Linked DNA regions of Homo sapiens: region 2 is linked to region 1. The links are contacts of gene promoters, found by promoter capture Hi-C in human tissues and cell types (Jung and others, 2019). All regions are on one chromosome and are shown on one strand. Each heading gives the region's core, a stretch centred on a gene start or on the middle of the fragment in contact. The rest is flanking DNA. Distances are from core to core; before and after follow the strand shown. Region 1 holds the start of HTR2B (5-hydroxytryptamine receptor 2B). Region 2 overlaps TRIP12 (thyroid hormone receptor interactor 12).

Region 1 (6,557 bases), core at 2,505-5,004:
CATCTTAAACTGTCTGCCTACCACACCCCCACTCCTAGACTAGCTGTGACAGTAGAGATGGCAGCCTATCACACTCCTGGTATAGGCTGTTAATGCCAGAGGAAGCAACACAGACTTCATATACATATGAGATGGGATCAAGAACCTAAGTAGAAGTCAATTGTGGAAAGGAATGATAACATGATCCCAAAGAAGGATAGGATGGATGAAAAGAAAGACATTTTGAGAAGACAGTGAAGGAAGCTTGTTTTTGATTTGTCAAAGTCTTTCGTTAAAATAACAGGCAGTCAGAAGAGAATGAAGGAGTCTAACGAGAACAGATTAAGTTTGAAATAGCTATTCTTATAGTTTCAGCTCTTTCACTGATCTTGTCAAAGAGAATGAACATGAGAGGAATGAATAAAAAGAAAGCTGAGAAATATTTGAACTCCACTGTAGGTCCTGTTGAAGTGAGCTAGTCTTAGTTCTACCTTATCTGTACTATAGTTACCAATATACTTGTTTGCATCCTCCATAAAATTATAAATTACATGAGGACAGAAAATGTTTACCTTATTCATTAATATATCTCCATGAGCATATGGCACTTAGTAAATACTTCACAAATGAATATGTAGCAGATACAATCCCTGTCATGTTAAACATTCCTTTATGGTTACTGTTTAATAGGTATTATGACTGAGAGGTAAAAAAGTGTTCTTGGCTGATATTTAAGCTGTCTTCCTAGACCTATAAAGAATATTAGACTGCCCTTTTCGGTCAAAGACAGAATCTGCTCAATAAATTAAAAAGACATCAGGGAGAAAATTCAATTGTCTTAGAAAAAAATGTGCCAATTAGGTTTTTTTGGTTATTACTGGATTAGAGGCTGAGTCTGACCTTGAAGTTACTTTAGTAAGAGTTACTTTATCTGAAGCTTTTGGGAAAGGAAATATTCTACACAAATGAAGCTTCCAGATATTAAAAACTTCACTCTACCATTAAGAATCATACTTTTATATTTCTTATTATTTGCATAGAAATATTTAATAAATTCATTTCACATTTATTTGCTGAATGAACATGATCTAGCCTTTTCTTAAGTACACAGAAGTCATCACTGTGCTATCCATCATTATGCCACATAAAATGTTGTCAAAGGGCGTGGGGTGCGGTGGCTCATGCCCGTAATCCCAGCACTTTGGGAGGCTGAGGCAGGCGATCACTTGAGGTCAAGAGTTCGAGACCATCCTGGTCAACATGGCGAAACCCCGTCTCTGCTAAAAATACAAAAATTAGCCAGGCGTGGTGGCAGGCGCCTGTAATCCCAGCTACTTGGGAGGCTGAGACAGGAGAATTGCTTGAACCTGGGAGGCAGAGGTTGCAGTGAGCTGAGATTGTGCCACTGCACTCCAGCCTGGGTGACAGAGGAAGGCTCTGTCTCAAAAAACAAAACAAAAACAAACACAAAAAAAGGTACAAGTCTCTACTTTGAGTAGACCTACATGTTTATACATTTAAATTCTTGTTTTTTTTTTTTTTGTTGTTGTTGTTGCTGTTTCAGTTGACCCTATTTGCTATTATCAAAGTGCTTGTCCACCTTTTAACTTGTTACTCAAATCTGGAGTAGGCAGGGAAACATGTTTATTAAAATTGTCTCACATGAATTTATCACTCAACATTCTTTTGTACTATCTACATCTACCACCATGTACAAATGTTATTTTCACTAAAGAAGGGGGAGAGGCAAAGTTTTGTGTGTGTGTATACGTCTGTGCGTGTGTGTGCGTGTATGTGTGTAAAGAGTAAAAAGATATGGAGTGGGGACTTAGAGGCTACTTTCTACTTAAAGTGCTTAGGGTTTTAGAGCACAGGTTTAGTTATTTGCTGAGACTCAACTATCCTTTTATATAATTATTTATTTATTATTATTTTGCTTTTTTCTTGATTCTCAGCTATGCTTCCCATAACTTGAGATTGCCAAATAAGTAGCTGTTCTAACTAGTTACGTTCCTTAGACATTAAACAGACTTAAAAAAGCAAAAATAAAAAAAATCAGAGTACCAATCTTACTTTTTATAAGTTGAGGCAAAAAATGAGTGAATGTGAGTGAAAGGATTAATACAGGCAAAATACAACAATGACTGCATTTTTATAATATACTTAATATTTAAAAAATTTTATCTATAAACAAATCAATAAAGGCTTATTTCATACAAGTCTTTTCACTGGATATAAAATGGTGCTGCTATTTTCAATCTGACATTACTTGTTTTGCAGATCCCTACCTGCCTTCATAAGCACAGATGTCAAAGTGTAACTCACAACTAAGCAGTATTTAAAAATAATTTCTTTTCCTCTTTTTTTTTTAATCTTGGAGACAAGATCTCATTCTGTCACCCCAAGCTGGAGCGCAGTGGTGTGATCTCAGCTCACTGCAGCCTCGACCTCCCCCAGGTTCATGCAATCCTCCTGCCTCAGGTCTCCCCTGACCCCTAACCCTCAACCCCTCCGCCGCCGCCCAGTAGCTGGGACTACGGGTGTGAACCACCACCCTTGGCTAATTTATGTGGTTTTTTTTGTAGAGATGGGGTTTTGCCATGTTGCCCAAGCTGGTCTCTTCTAGACTCAAGCAATCCACCTGTCTTGGTCTACCAAAGTGCTGGAATTACAGGAATGAGCCACCGCACCTTGCCTTAAAATATTTTCATATTCCTGAATAGAAATTCTGGTACATTAAAAAACATCTGATTTCTCTTGAATATTATTTCATCTAGAATTCTTCACAAGTATTTTTTCTAATATAGTAAATTTTGAGTTTTTAAAAAAGCAGCAAATACTGAATAAAATCTGAAGTGCTCAGCAGAGCTAAAATGAACTAAGTATTTTCCAATAACATTCAACATGAGCAAAGGAATACAAATTTGAAACAAGAAAAGGGCACAAATGTCATCACTGATTTATAAGTAATTAATTTTAAAATATGCATCTATAATGATCTTTTAAAAGGAAACCTTGAGAATGCTGAGGTTCTAATACTAAGCTAGTCTTATGGTTACAGAAAACTTAAATAGCATAACTATTAAGATTTAAACACCAATTTTCTGAAATAAGGCAAAAACGTATTTTCATTACTTGTATTTTCTCCAACGTAAAGTCTATGGGGAAAAAAAGCTGTGAACCACTCCTAAACCCAGAGATCATCTGTTTAAAAATAAGCAGTAAAAAAGTTTCTGCTAAAACCTATGTATACATGTAGAATTCAGGCCTTTCTGTGCTCTTCTATATAAGGTTGCAACCAGAGCAAATTAATGGTGTTCCACAGCAAAGGCACAAAAGCTAGATAAGAATCTTGTTTCACTGCTAGAAATCAGAACTGTAGAAATCACTATAGGCTTTTAAAACGGCAGAATCTTCAAAGAATGAAACCTCTAAAATAGCTAGATTATATCTTATTTTTTCTCAAATGTGAAAAACAGCTCAGGCTTAACCCCAAACAAAACTATCTGAAGCTAAAATGATCAAGTTTATTACAGTCCCCCCAAATATTAAAGAGAGCTCTTAAAAATATAACTTGAATAAGGGCCATGAACTGGTTCAACATGCTTAACAGTGGTTTTATGAATTACAATGAATGCTGCTACTCTCTAAAAATGAATGTATCAAAGAGGAAATAACCTCCTTGGCATGCTTGCAGCTATACAACGTATTTGTTTCACTGCTTTCAACCGCCTGTGCTGGAGGCTCAGAATAAGTCAATGGGAGGAGGATTTCAGTCACAGCAGCAAGCAAGTCTAGTGAACAGATAAGATGACATGCTCAGCAAAATAACAACGAAACCAGAGGTAAGCATTTAATAAACACATATGGAATTAATCTAAAGGTTTTTTTTTTTAATCTTCAAGAATTCTGCTATCATAATCTTTCATTTCTATTCAGCGGTTTAAAAATCAAAATGAAAAATTTACTAATGCTAAAGGAGAGTTTTTAAAAACGTGATTTGTACATTTGATGAACAAATAAATGGTCTAATCTTCCTTTTGGTTTCCCTTTCTTCTCAAGGCAACTGGGAAGGTTAAAAAAATAAACACTACTTAAAACAAAAAAAGAACTGGTTTGAATTTGGCAAATTTAGTGATTAAATTTAGAACACAATTGTTGCAAAGACATACCATGAGAGATGAAATTACTAAACACAATTATTTGGATCCTAGTAATACCTTTTTTTTTCCTTCTCTCAAACTAAAGGAAATCTAAAATGACATTTATATCAGTACTCACAAACCTGATAAGACAAAGCTAATTACATATAAGGATCCCTAGCTGGTAAAACATTTATTTAGACCCTTGTTGGGCTTTGAGTGTTTCTAGGTGGGTGGCCAGCGCATACTAAAAGTTCTATTCTGAACTATTGTGTTTCGACTTTTCTATTCTTCTGTAAGTAAAGGTAAAAAGACATTCAAGGGTCAGGAAACACCTAACTTTTTATTATAACCATTGAAAAAATTAATGTGTCTTCTGTTTCATTAACTGAGCAACATCAGAAATACAGTATATTTGGAGAATTGGCTGCATTGTCACAAATGCACAACAGACTTACTAAGAAGGGAAGGGCTATGAAGTTCAAGTGTTTTTACCACTTTCAGAAATGAATAAAATAATGCAGTCTATGTATTTTGTATCTAGGGGGAACTCTCTGGCATGCAAGTTCAAACACGACTCTACAACTACGGCAGAAAAAGAGAGAGAGAGAAACTAAAAATATATATATATCCTATTTTTTTCACAGCTATCAGTTTCTTTCACTGAGCTTTCCTAAATTTAAGCCTCTAGAAAATAATAAATACTTGGATATCTTACCTACAAACATGGACAGATGTGTGTATGCGCTCATTTTAGAGAACTTGAATTTTTTTTTTTAAAGGAAGGTGTCAACTTTGGCTTTTGAGTGTTTGGCATGGTTACAATGCCTTAAAAAAACAGATGAGCAGCTTAGCTACTAACCATGCTGACCACTGTTCGGAACGGGATTGAATCACAGAAAAACAGCAAATGGCTCTCTCTTACAGAGTGTCTGAACTTCAAAGCACAATTCCTGAGCACATTTTGCAGAGCACCTTTGTTCACGTTATCTCTTCTAACTGGTCTGGATTACAGACAGAATCAATACCAGAGGAAATGAAACAGATTGTTGAGGAACAGGGAAATAAACTGCACTGGGCAGCTCTTCTGATACTCATGGTGATAATACCCACAATTGGTGGAAATACCCTTGTTATTCTGGCTGTTTCACTGGAGAAGAAGCTGCAGTATGCTACTAATTACTTTCTAATGTCCTTGGCGGTGGCTGATTTGCTGGTTGGATTGTTTGTGATGCCAATTGCCCTCTTGACAATAATGTTTGGTAAGTATTTCACTTTGTTTGTGCCATCAAACCACAGAACTATGATATACTATTAGAGAATGGACACTCATTTAATCTTTACTTTTCTTGAAATAAAAGATGAACTTGGACTATTTAAAGATACGGCAAGTAAACAGTCCCTTGTTTTATATCATTCTCTATGGTTGATCAGCAGTTTTAAAGAGCAAAAAATATTTTTTGTAAACTATTTTTCTCCCTCCTAAGCTATCTAATAAAATCATTTAAAAAGTCATTCAAGTTAGTGATATTTATAGATTCTGAATATATTATCTATAAATTATAGTAAATAGGCCTATACTTTAACTTTTCTACACTGATACTTTTTTTCCTCAAAGCAATAACTAGGACACTTCCGGGACAGATATGCGCTGGGTTAACGATAAGGTCTTTGAATTACTAAATCCCAATTTAAATCACTAAACCCCAGTTTAAAATTGGAACTGTCCAAAAATTCTTATTATAGCTCTTAATAGTTTGTATATTATAAACTTGAACACAATTCCTACATATGTGTCATGTTAAGAAAAATTATGTTTAGTTGCTGAAGGAAATGGTTTGGCTCAGAGTGTCCAAAGAGATGATCTATCGATTCAATTTTTTTATGATATATGGGCATCTGTGTTCCTGATAGGCCTCTAAGTTGGTAAGTGGATTAAAACCTAGTTATTGCGATAATAAAAGGTATAGTTTGACACTGAAATCTTAGTTTGCTATAATAAAAAAAAGATATAAGTAGTTCCAGATTTCTGCATATCATCTCTAGTTATAAAATTTGGATAAACACAAATAATTCTGCTGATGAATTATGAGGGCTCCTAGACCCTTGGAATCAGCATTAAAAGGATATTTAACTTATTCAATGCTTGGTATAAACTGATATTCCATTCATAAACTGCCTAAGCAAAATGATTACTTGTGGCAGATATAGTTTCTTAGAATTATATTTACTTATATGAAGATAAAAATATTTTAAGTTACAGAAGTAAAATTTATTAAACTAGAATCCATATTAGAAGGTAAAAAACCCCTGCTATTCCAACTATTATACCCAGGTTTTACACATTACAATTTTATAAGTAATAACAGAAAGATATCTAAAACTATTATCAGATAGTAACAGGTTTACACCTTCCATTTTAAATCAACATTTACC
Region 2 (6,557 bases), core at 1,905-4,404, 1.3 Mb after region 1:
AACCTATTTGAATGTGATGTGTTTCCTTAGGTAAAGACTTATTCTAAGACATAATTGGTCAGTAGGAGAGCTTTCATAGTAAAGGAAATGTTTTAAAAATTGTAGGAACAACAGTATTTTTAAGATGCTTTATGAAAAACCATTCTCCATGTTCAAGTATTATTCAAGGAGATTCTAGATAAGCAGGAATATATTGAAAGCTGTGGGAAGACTTGCAGTAACTTCTTAACCCAATAATTTGCAAATTAATTTGACCAGCTATTACTTGGGAACCAGTAGTGGTTCATGGAATACACTCAGGAAATGATATAATACATTTAGTGAGGAAGCTTAAACAGGAAGACCTTGTTATTGTGCTGCTTAGTCAATTGTTGATAGACCAATGAACAAGTTCCCGGCGAGGCACTAGGGCTGGCAGAAGATCTAGTGAAACCGCTACTTTAGTGATAGACTTCCTGAAGCATTGCTGCTTGCCAGCTGTATCTCATCAAAACAGCTCTGAGACAAAGGTCATTCTGTGTTACTTGGTAAAAGTCTCCTGAGTACCCCAGAAAGAAAATTGTTATGTAACAATTTTTAATGTACATTAGGAAGTTATAGCTGTCTCTTGTTTAGCCTAAGTAAGTAGACATTTTTGCAAATTTTATACAGCATAAATATAAAACCAGTAGGGTAATATAATGATATAGATGGCTTCAAAAATCTTTTTATATTTTAATATACTTTAAATAATTTTATAATAGTTTGGCTTCAAAATATATTTTGCTAATCTACCTTCTTATAAAAGCTAATTTAAAAAAAAATTTGCAATAATTTCAAAGTGAGTAGATGATGATGGTATAGAATTATAAGAAACAATTGGTGATCAAAATCTGAGTAATTATGGAACCTGTTTATAGAAAAACTTAAGTTATATTTCCAGGCAGATGTTCTATTGAAGATCTACTTTACTCTCTATTATTTAAAGTGGACATCATGTGCACGTTATTAGTAACATAGCAGTAGTTAACAGCTTACTTTTGTCTTGAGTTTCATATTCTCCTGGTGACTTTGCATGTAGCCTGTGGTTTTTATCAGACCTAGACAAGAACCAGGCAAAAGCCAAATTCTAGAAAAGAGATTCTGATTAGATTAGGAAGACTTAGTGCTTTGGGCCCCTAGCACGGAGGGAGGAAATAAGAATGAGTTAAGCAGGAGAGATGAATTTAAGTTAGATACATGGTTTTGTGTCCGGAATTGGTGGATTCTTGGTCTCACTGACTTCAAGAATGAAGCCGCGGACCCTCATGGTGAGTGTTACAGCTCTTAAGGTGGCGCGTCTGGAGTTTGTTCCTTCTGATGTTCGGATGTGTTTGGAGTTTCTTCCTTCTGGTGGGTTCATGGTCTCGCTGGCTCAGGAGTGAAGCTGCGCGGTGAGTGTTACAGTTCTTAAGGCAGCACGTCTGGAGTTGTTCCTTCCTCCCGGTGGGCTCATGGTCTTGCTGGCTTCAGGAGTGAAGCTGCAGATCTTCGCGGTGAGTGTTATAGCTCATAAAAGCAGTGTGGACCCAAAGAGTGAGCAGTAGCAAGATTTATTGCAAAGAGTGAAAGAACAAAGCTTCCAGTGTGGAAGGGGACCCGAGCGGGTTGCCACTGCTGGCTCGGGCAGCCTGCTTTTATTCTCTTATCTGGCCCCACCCACATCCTGCTGATTGGTAGAGCCGAGTGGTCTGTTTTGAGAGGGTGCTAATTGGTGCATTTACAATCCCTGAGCTAGACACTAAAGGTTCTCCATGTCCCCACCAGATTAGCTAGATACAGAGTGTTGACACAAAGGTTCTCCAAGGCTCCACCAGAGTAGCTAGAGAGTGTCGATTGGTGCATTCACAAACCCTGAGCTAGACACAGGGTGCGGATTGGTGTGTTTACAAACCTTGAGCTAGATACAGAGTGCCGATTTACAATCCCTGAGCTAGACATAAAGGTTCTCCACGTCCCCACCAGACTCAGGAGCCTAGCTGGCTTCACCCAGTGGATCCTGCACCGGGGCTGCACGTGGAGCTGCCTGCCGGTCCCGCGCCATGTGCTCGGACTCCTCAGCCCTTGGGTGATCGATGGTACTGGGTGCCCTGGAGCAGGGGGCGGCGCTCGTCGGGGAGGCTTGGGCTGCACAGGAGCCCACGGAGGTGGGGGAAGGCTCAGCCATGGTGGGCTGCTCTCCCGAGGCCTGCGCTGCGGGAAGGCAGCTAAGGCCCGGCGAGAAATCGAGTGCAGCGCCGGTGGTCTGGCACTGCTGGGGGACCCAGTACACTCTCCGCAGCCGCTGGCCCGGGTGCTGAGCCCCTCATTGCCTGGGGCCGGCAGGGCCGGCTGCTCCTCCGAGTGTGGGGCCCGCCAAGCCCACACCCACCCGGAACTCCAGCTGGCCCGCAAGCGCCGGGTGCAGCCCCCGTTCCCACTCGCGCCTCTCCCTCCACACCTCCCTGCAAGCTGAGGGAGTGGGCTCTGGCCTTGGCCAGCCCAGAAAGGGGCTCCCACATTGCAGCGGTGGGCTGAAGGGCTCCTCAGGTGCCGCCAAAGTTGGAGGCCAGGCAGAGGAGGCGCCGAGAGCGAGCGAGGGCTGTGAGGACTGCCACACGCTGTCACCTTTCAGTTTCACCAACTTGCATCTTGCAGGATCATCTCTACTTGCGTGAAAAAGGTAGATAATCTGTGAGCTCTGTGAAGAGTTGGGCAGGGAGCTTAAAAGGAAATGGGTTGAGTGTCAGTTTTCTATATTACAAGGCAGCTATTAAAGTAATTTAGCAACTTAAAAGTTTAGAAGTTCCAATATGTGACCGCTTTGAAAAATTACTAACAAATAATCCTAGTGTTTTTGAGGCTTTAAAAAAACTTTAAACAGAAGTGGCCAAATTTAAAAAAGAGATCATTTAATTGTAAATACAGCATTGACTTCTTTGTTAACAAGGCTTTGCTTTGTATTACATTGTTTGGAAATTATAAATGGCCATGTTATATATTGTTTTGTATGCAAGGTCAAAATAAGAATTAAATTAGCCAAATTATGTTTTACTCAATTTACATTAGTAATTGCCCTTTATATTCTTACGTGTATTCTGGAATGGTTTTGACACTTCTGATTCTGATATATGTTTGTTAAAAGTAATCCAGAAAGTACCAAAATATACAAAGAAGAAAAATACAAAATCACTTTTAATTTCATTCACCAAGGGCTACCTCTTTTTTTTTTTTTGGTGTGTATTATGCCAAAAATTTTCACTTTATATTTATCAACACTTATGTGCAGTGTTAAGTGAAAGAGTTATATAAGACCTTTTTTTTCTTCTTCTTCAAGAAGATAATCATAGCTTACTGCAGCCTTGATCTCAAAAGATTCAAACAGTGTTCCCACCTCAGCATCCCGGGTAGCTGGGACCACAGGCACATGCCACCATACCCAGCTAATTTTTTTAGAAAGATTTTTTTTTTGTAGAGATGAGGTCTCACTATGTTGCCTAGGTTCGTCTCAAACTCCTGGACTCAAGCGATCCTCCTATCTAGGCCTCCGAAAGTGCTTGGATTATAGGCATGAGCCACTATGCCTGGCCAGATCTATTATTTTTTTTTAAAGCAGTCTTTCTGCCACTTTGCCCTTTTCTGTGGCTGATTATTTTGAAGTTTCAGTGTCTAGATTATGTGCTTTTATATGTCCCTTTGTTGATTCTTCTCCCCCACCCCCAAGTGTTTGATCCCTGTTGTGTTCCCCTTAGGGAAAATGAAGATTTTGCATTCTAACCTTACCCCACCCCATTCACCTACCAAACACATACTGTTACATACTTCCTGTCTTCCCAGTGATGATCAGCACGCAGGGTTTATTGTATCGTGAACATCTAAATGTTATTTACACTGAGCCACGTAAAGGAACATTTCCTTTCTCACACATTTTTGCTTTTCCTGAATTTTAAATTCCTTTTTGTTGTTGTTTTCCTTACTTTCCCATGAACTTACTCAAACTCCACATTCCTTACTAATTGTCACAATCTTTTCTCAAGCTGTCTGCATGCATTTGTTTCATCTTGAAGAAATGAGGCCTCTGGATGGTTGTTCATTATGCCTGGTTATACGGCTTCAGCCTTGGGATTTTCTTCAGTCTTCTTAGTTTCCCTTTTCTAGATTTCATGTCATCTTGGTTTCTTGTTTTGGTGGAATATTTCTTCTTGACTCTAAGGAAAAGTATGAGATTTTAATAATTTACAATTTATTTTTTCAAAATTTAGATGTCTGAAAATGTTATACCACCCTGATATTTATTTGCCAGATTGGTGAATATAGAGTTCTGGGTTGGGAATTACTTTCCTTCAGAATTTTCAAGAATTATATAGTGTATTCTGTCTTTCAATACTGGCACCATTCCTAGTTCTGATTTATTCCTTGATAGGGTGACCAACTGGTTTTGCTTTCTCTGGATCTGGGGCATTCTGAAGACTCAGGACTTACAGCTCTAAAACCAGCATAGTCCTAGGCAAACTGGGACTGTTGGTCACCGTGTACTTGTTTGTTTTCTCTTTCTTGATTTTCTATTGAGTGCTTGTCCTCTTAAATGGTCTTGATCTTACTGTTTGACATTGCTTTCCTTTTTCGTTCTGTTTCTGGTAGATTTCTACATCTTCCAACTTTTCTCTTGAAATGCTTTTTTTCCCCCATGTTTGCCATGTTTTATTTCCAAGAGGTGATTTTGTTTTCATTTTCTTGTTTATAGAATCATGCGTTTGGTTTATGGTTGCATTTCTTTTTTGATGACATTAATGGTGAGTTTTCTTTGCCTGTGTAATCTCAAGTATTTGTGTGTGTGGGGGGGGCGGGGGGGGCCTGCATTTTGGATTGGTTTTGTCTTTCATGTTAGGAACTTTCCTCATATTCTGGTAATTCTGGTAATTCCTGGTTGTCTCCTCATACTCAAGTGTAATTCAAGACCAAAAGTCTAATTTATAAGCTCTGAGTACATAAGGGAGGTTTGACCGAGATTCATTGTTTAGTGATCTGGTTGGGTCATTTTGTTGTAAACTTCCTCTTATCATTATTTTTAGATCTTTTTTTCTTTAGCTGGTAAAATTCCACAGAGAAGATTGTTTCAAACTTCTGCCTCAAGGTGAAGCCCTAAGTGCCTGAGTTCTGGGGGCCAAGTGGGAGAAGAGGCCACAGATGGAGGCAGGATAATGTATATTGTCAGACAGTATGTCTGTACTCGATTCCCTTCTCTCCCTCTTATTTTTGGTGTAGTGAACCTATTTGTACTGTGTACTTTAGTCAGGAATTTCTATATTCTATACTTCCTAAAGAATAAAGGTCTTGTTTTTTGCTGGAACCAGGAGAGGAATGGTTACCCAGCTGTACAAGTGTGGGAGAGGATCTGAGGATCTGATGCCTTGTAAACAGCCTATCAGCCAATCTTCAGTTTTAATCCCAACACTGCCCTAGAGGTATCTGGCATCATCAGATCCTGAGCCTTTTTGGGTTTCTCTGGTGTCAGTTTGATTGGTAGTTAATCTCAGCTTTCTACTTTCAGCTTTCTGGACTTCCCAGTGCATTTAGCCCCGGCATTTCTGGTTTTCATCTCCTAAAATTGTATTGTAACAATAGTGTCTTCCATTCTTCTCATCCTTGTAGATTTATGTCTCAGATTGTTTTAATGCTGTATTAGTGGCATTTCATGTGGAGACAGAAGTGAGTGCATGTGTGTTAAGTCTTCTGTCTTTACCCAGAAGGGAGACACTTCGCTAGGCATATGCAAAAGTATGATCTCGCTGTACATGACAGTGGGCATTACTTTTTGAGTGCCTGTTATGTGGCCAGGCTCTGAAATAGACATTTGATGTCCGTTAAATTTCATCTTCAGAATGACAGAGCAAGGTAATAGTTGTGGAGAAACAAAAGTGCATTATTTGTCTAAACACTTTGTAATAGAGTGGTTTCCTTTCAAATAACTATAAATTACATCATTCGTAATGGCTAGATATGGATGTACCCTAATTAAGTATAGCTTTGTAATTTACACCACTCTTTCCTTGTTAAGTCACTGGTTATATTCTTTTTAGATATTGACATATATTTTGAAACTGCACTTAGAAATACATGAATTCCCACCAGCTGTGTAAAAGTGCCAACATGTTCAAATCCTTATTAAATAATAACTGTTTTCTTGCAACTTTAATTACCATACTGTTTTATTTAACTATTCCCTGTTATTGGGCATCTAGCTCCTTTCTAGTTTCTCCTCATTATAAATACTGCTTAGATGAATACCTTTGGACATTTCCAATATTTGTAATTCATATTGACAAATCAGTGCATGAAATGCTGTGCATTGACTAGGAAATAAAAATTTGCTTTAAAAATTGCATTTGGGATTTAGCTCATTATCTGCAAAATCTGTCTTATTATTACTGAGTTATTTTAAAATAAAAGTCTGTGATTCCTTTTTATAACCTCATAGATTACTTTTCATTTTTTTAAATTTATTTTTACCAAAGTAACCATTAATATAGTTACACGGGCATACCTTGGAGATGTTAATG

Evidence for each region. The method cuts DNA at HindIII sites, captures the fragments that hold promoters and counts their contacts. A contact is called where the count stands out against the background at its distance.
Region 2: a contact is called between a fragment that was not itself captured here and the fragment with the promoter of HTR2B in region 1, in 1 of the 25 tissues and cell types used here (lymphoblastoid cells).

What each region holds. Positions count from the first base shown.
Region 1 is chr2:231,122,239-231,128,795 of GRCh38, reverse strand. It overlaps HTR2B (5-hydroxytryptamine receptor 2B), which reads left to right and starts at 3,754. Exons shown (of 4, transcript NM_000867.5): 1 at 3,754-3,824; 2 at 4,666-5,383. The coding sequence starts at 5,032. All of the region lies in intron 16 of PSMD1 (proteasome 26S subunit, non-ATPase 1), which reads right to left. The HindIII fragment of the contact is 13,649 bases long and covers 581-6,557 here.
Region 2 is chr2:229,846,611-229,853,167 of GRCh38, reverse strand. All of the region lies in intron 4 of TRIP12 (thyroid hormone receptor interactor 12), which reads left to right. Among named protein-coding and RNA genes, the nearest start is that of TRIP12, 72 kb to the left of the region's middle. RefSeq lists enhancers at 1,654-2,332, 2,333-3,012. The HindIII fragment of the contact is 4,381 bases long and covers 964-5,344 here.